Linked DNA regions of Homo sapiens: region 2 is linked to region 1. The links are contacts of gene promoters, found by promoter capture Hi-C in human tissues and cell types (Jung and others, 2019). All regions are on one chromosome and are shown on one strand. Each heading gives the region's core, a stretch centred on a gene start or on the middle of the fragment in contact. The rest is flanking DNA. Distances are from core to core; before and after follow the strand shown. Region 1 holds the start of RPLP2 (ribosomal protein lateral stalk subunit P2). Region 2 holds the start of AP2A2 (adaptor related protein complex 2 subunit alpha 2).

Region 1 (2,700 bases), core at 34-2,533:
CCGGGCTCAAGTGACTATCCCACCTCAGTCTGGGACTACAGGCATGAGCAACCAAGCCTGGCTAATTTTTTATTGTATTTTAGAGACGAGGCCTGGTTCTGTTAGACTGCAGTGGCACAATCACTACTCAGTGCAGCCTTGACCTCTAAGGCTCAAATGATTCTCCCGCATCAGCCTCATGAGTAGCTGAGACTACAGATGTGCACCACTGCCTCCAACCATTTTTTTTTTTTTTTTTTTTTGTGGAGACCGGGTCTTGCAATGTTTTCCAGACCAGTCTCGAACTTCAAGGCTCCAATAATCCACTCGCCATGGCCTCCCAAAGCCGGGTGAGCCATGCGCCAGGACTGCTTTTTTTTTTTTTTAACGCAATCTTACGCAGCTCACTGGTATTAAACTTCCAAAGCTTGTTAATCACGATTTTGCCTCGTACCCACCCTGCTTTTTTTTTTTTTTTTCCTTTTGAGACAGGGTCTCCTTCTGCCACCCAGACTGGAGTACAGTGGCACGATCCGTGCAACCTCCATCTCCCGGGTTCGAGCGATTTTCCTGCCTCAGCCTCCCAAGTAGGGGGACTACAGGCACCCACCACCACGCCCGGCTAATTTTTGTATTTTTAGTAGGGATGGGGTTTCGACATGTTTACCAGGCTGGTCTCGAACCCCTGACCTCAGGTGATCCGCCTGCCTCGTCCTCCCAAAGTACTGGGACTACAGGCGTGAGCCACCGCGCCCGACCTCCGCCCGGCTTACTTCTCTATCCAAGAAATCGCCAACTAGACTGAAACGAGCCTCTCCCCGAACCCTCCAGCATGTGGCCGGATCAGGCAGAAGAATCGCCTGTATGGGACACTGGGGCCCCACGGCGGCTGCGGGGCAAGGGCGGCCGCTACCTTGTTGAGCCGGTCGTCGTCCGCCTCGATACCCACGCTGTCCAAGATCTTCTTGATGTCCTTGGCGCTGGGGGAGGAGTTGCCCCCTAGGGCAGCCAGCAGGTAGGAGGCGACGTAGCGCATCCTGAGGCGGGCGGAGAGGACGCGACGGCGGAGTTACCCCGGCGGCCTCCTGCCGGCCCATCCCGGGGCCGCCGGGCGAGGCCGCGCGTGGCTCGGCCCGTAGGCCTCCGTCCCAAAAATACCCCGCCGCCCACCCCGCATCCCCACGGACTCCGCGTCCCCAGCCGGCACCCCGGGCCCGGTCACCACACTCACGCGGCGGCGTCTGCGGCGGAGGCGGCGGAGAAGTCTCACGCGTGCGACCTCGGTGGCGACAGGGAGGAAAAGGAAGGCGCCGACGCAAGAGGCGGGGTTAAACCGCTACCCAGAAGGCTCTGGGACCCGTGCGCGGCGCCGCATGAGGCGCCTCAGAGTGACGTCACGAGGCGCTCAGCCAATGACGACGGGGAGGGAGTCGTTGACTCCTTCCCCCTCCCCCTTCCCAGCCCCCGTCAGGCACTTTTCGCGGCAAAGGCGAAGGGCAGCAGTTCCGGAAGTGACTGCTCTTATAGCGTGGGGCGAAGGGCCACCGAAACTCGTGGGGGCGTTGGACGAAGCGAGTCCAAAGGGACGGCATCTGCCTTCGGTACCTAGCACCCCCAGCATGCCACGCGGCGCCTACAGCTCCCAACATGGAGCGCGGCCGCCACGCCCGGGACTCAACCTTTGCCAGCGAACTGCAAGTCCCATGGTGCACCGCTGCCGGAAGTGGCCTGCGCCGCGGGCCTACCCGGAACGGCGCGTGGGCCCGGGCAGAAGCTGCTGGCGGTAGGCTCGCCTTGACTCCTTGGTGGTTCCCTGGCCGCGGCGACCGGTGGTCCCACGTCCAGCCGGGCTCAGTGAGGTGAGCCAGCCGCCTCGGACTTAGCGACTGCGGCCCTATCTGGGAGGCCGCCCCCGCACTGCGGTGTCAGGGCATCCTGTCAGAGGACGAGCGCGGGCCTTGGAGGGCAGGACAATGACGTGAGGCAGCGTCGCCCGCTCACCCCTGCGAGGAGTGAGGTCTGAGTGGTCAGCCCCTGCGCTGGCCGCTTTGGCCCGGAACTGACCTCGGTGTCCATGTGGACATCAGCACCTCAGGGACCCCGCTACATTCTCGGGTCCTGGGAGGGAACAGGGTTGGCCCTGCCTCCTAAGGACTTGAGTTCTTGTGCGAGGACGCAGGAGGTGAATAGGGAGGCGATCCGAAGGACAGGGACAGAGGGAGACTTGGTCCTCTGGGCAGCCTGAGAAAGCTTGAGCTGAGAGATGAGAAGGAGCCATCCCTGCCAATATCCCGGGCGAGCACCAGGAACAGGGTCAGATGCAGGTATCTACCGTGTTAGCAGGCAGCGCCAGCTCCCGTTGGGCTCTAACAGCAGTGCAAACCCTGGGGTGTGTATACGTCAAGCACTGGAACTCGACTTCACAGTCGCCTTCTGTGGCCTCGTTATCATTACCCCCATTTTATAGATGAGGCAGTTGGGTACAGAAAGGTTTTTTTGCTCAGGGTCACACATCTGGGGTAAAGGCGGGAAACCATCTTGGGAACAATGGGACTTTTCTTATTTTGTAATTTTTGAGACTGGGCCCCATTCTGTCGCCCAGCCTGGAGTGCAGTGGCTCGATCACAGCTCGCTGCAGCCTCAACTTCCTGGGCTCAGGTGATCCTCCCACCTCAGCCTCCTAGCGGAGACCACAGGCGTGTGCCACCACACCCGGCTAAA
Region 2 (2,700 bases), core at 12-2,511, 120 kb before region 1:
GGAACTACTGCGCTCCAGCCTGAGAGCCAGAGCAAGACCCTGTCTCAAAAAAAAGAAAAACAAAAATCATGAAGTCAACTATTTGCTGGATAACAAGGAAAAAAATCAACGCAGCAGACAGGAAACTGGCTTTGTTTCTCCCTCAAATTAAATAAGGAGATGGCCTCTGAAAGCCAAGAGGAGGTTCTGCACACCAAAGTCAAATTAATTGGTGGACCGGTGCACCCACCCAGCCACCCTGCACATCCTTCTAACAGGCCCAGCCTTCCTGGCTTGTTTAACGGTTTGGTGTGGATTTTTCCCACCCCGAGGGGACAGGCACGGGGCTGAGAACGAGGTCTGTGATTGGAGCAGCAGGCAGCGAGGCCATCCCACACCCCGACTGCTGCTCGTGTCCAGATTCCCTCCGGGAATGAGTCATTTTAATCGTCGTAGGTGAGATCTAATCAGGGGTTAATAAGCCTCCAGAACCCAGGTCACAAAGCTGTTTCCTGGGAAGACACTGATTTCCAGATTTCTGCTCCCAAAGCTAAAATCCACGCCGTTTTGGAAAACGCTGGGTTAAACGCTCCAGTACTAGAAAGACCAAGGTGACATCATGCTGGGGAGGGGCGTCTTGGCCCGGAACCCCCTTGGTGGTGCCGCAGCCCCCCGCACGGACCAGCAAACGGGAGTGGAGATGTGGATGAAGGGCCGTGCCCTAAACCCCTAGACCCCGCACCCCTAGACCCTGGACACCCCACCCCGCACCCCCAGACCCAGGGCCCCGCTCTGCATCCTGACCCGCACCCCCATACCCGATACCCCAAGACTCTGAGCGCCGCCCGCACCCCCAGACCCTGGACCCCCACCCCGCACCCTGGCCCCCACCCCCAGACCCGGTACCCCAAGACCCCGAGCGCCGCCCGCACCCTCAGGCCCCGGGCCCCGCCCGCATCCCAGCCTGCACCCCCGCCTCGAGGCCCCGCCCCGGGCCTCCGCTCCCAGACCCCGTCTCCGCCGGCGGCCCCGGCCCCGGCCCCACGCCGCCCCCGCCACTCACAGTTGCGGATATCCGAGATGAAGACCGCCAGGCCCCGCATCCCGTCCCCCTTGGACACGGCCGGCATCTTCCGACGCTCGGGAGCGGCCTCGGCTGGCGGACCCGGGCGGAGGAGCGCGGGGAGCGGGAAGCGGGGAGTGCGGTCGCCGTCACCGCCGCGGAGGAGCCGCCGGGGAGCCGCCTAACCACGGCCGCCTCAGGGTCCCAGCGCCGCTTTCTGGGCCGCCGCGCGCGCGCACGTACGGCGCCCGCACCAGCACGCACGCGCACGCACGCGAGCGACGACGGACGGCGGCCGGGGCGGGTGTCGCGTGAGGCAGCGCGCGCGCGTCCGCGGCACGGGGGCGAGCCGGTCGAGGCAGGCGCGGGGGCGCCCCCTGCAGGCGGACACCATGGACGGAGCCGCTGAAGCCACGCGTTCGCGTCCCGGGGCCGCGCCAAGCTGGCGATGCCGCCCGCGTCCCCCACGGGAAGGGCGTGGGTCCGGGCGGGAACCCGCGTGTGCAGCGGGCCGCCTCTGTCGTTGTTGGTGGTCACTGCAAAAGAGGCGGCCACGCAGGCACACGCGTACGGCCTCGTCCTGGGCCTCGGCCCCGCTAGCTTGCCCCGAGCAGTCTCCGTTTTCTTACTTGGAATAAACGACCTGTGAGCGCTGGGCGGCGGGGCAGCTCCGAGGCCAGGGCCTTGTTTGTTCCGCGGGGGCCGGGGCGGGAGGGCGGCGCCGGGAGGAAGCTGGGGCTCCAGGCGAAGGGGTCACAGCCGCTGGACGGCCTTTGGCGAGGAAACCCTCCCCTAGCACGGTATCCTGAGACGGTGGGGCTGGCCCGCCCCTCCTGCCGCCCTGAGCCGCCAGGGCCACATCTCTTGCGGTCCCTGAGCTGGGGGCGAGGCAGGCCCCGTGCCCGACCCAGCCCAGGGTCTGTGTGGCAGCCCAGGTGCCCCCTCCACATCACCTGGGCCTGCAGAGAAACAACCACCCACCCCACCCCAGTGACAGCGGCCGGGGGCGGCAGCCCCTGCGGAATCTAGTCCCTCGGCGGCGCCAGGACTTTTGGCCACTGTTGCCAGGGCCCCCTCTGCTCCCCAGCCCTCTGCACCACTGCAAGCTGGAGGCCTAGGCCCACCCCTGTGGACACATCGCAAGGGAGGACCTGCTGGGCCAGGCTGCACAGCTCCAGGTCCCGGCCAGGAAGAGACCCCAGGGAGTGGGGAAGCAGATGGCCCTGCCTCACTGTCCTTCCCAGAGCCAGATGGCTTTGAACAGGAAGCTCCCTCCTGCTGCAGTGGGGGGATCTGGACCCTGTACCTGGAACTGGCCCAGACCCACCAGCCAGGGCTTTGTCCCCACCCTGGCTCACTTCCGCAGCCCCAGATGAGAGCTTAGCCCTGGTGGAGCCCGGCCAGGAGGAGGGCACAGGACCCATGCCCCTCCCCAATGAACCGGGTGCCGCACCCAGGCTCTGGGCCTCCAGAACTCCTGGGGAAAACCAAGATCTGTGACAGACCCCAGTCAGCATAAGGCAACCAAGTCCATCACTTCCCAAGACAGAGGCACGGAGCCGACCCAGCAGAGGGCTTCCTGGAGGACGGTACACCCCTCCGGAGTCCCTATCCTCTCCCAGTGCCACCTCCTGGCAGAGAAAGTGGTCCCGGGGCTG

What was found. The method cuts DNA at HindIII sites, captures the fragments that hold promoters and counts their contacts. A contact is called where the count stands out against the background at its distance.
Region 2: a contact is called between the fragment with the promoter of AP2A2 here and the fragment with the promoter of RPLP2 in region 1, in 2 of the 25 tissues and cell types used here (IMR-90 fibroblasts and hippocampus).

What each region holds. Positions count from the first base shown.
Region 1 is chr11:808,550-811,249 of GRCh38, reverse strand. It overlaps RPLP2 (ribosomal protein lateral stalk subunit P2), which reads right to left and starts at 1,283. Exons shown (of 5, transcript NM_001004.4): 1 at 1,211-1,283; 2 at 893-1,016. The coding sequence starts at 1,015. It also overlaps a transcript of PIDD1 not described here. RefSeq lists a silencer at 968-1,237 and enhancers at 1,608-1,797, 1,948-2,047, 2,058-2,347. The HindIII fragment of the contact is 1,454 bases long and covers 1-1,318 here.
Region 2 is chr11:924,431-927,130 of GRCh38, reverse strand. It overlaps AP2A2 (adaptor related protein complex 2 subunit alpha 2), which reads right to left and starts at 1,261. Exons shown (of 22, transcript NM_012305.4): 1 at 1,043-1,261. The coding sequence starts at 1,109. RefSeq lists a silencer at 910-1,449. The HindIII fragment of the contact is 16,179 bases long and covers 1-2,700 here.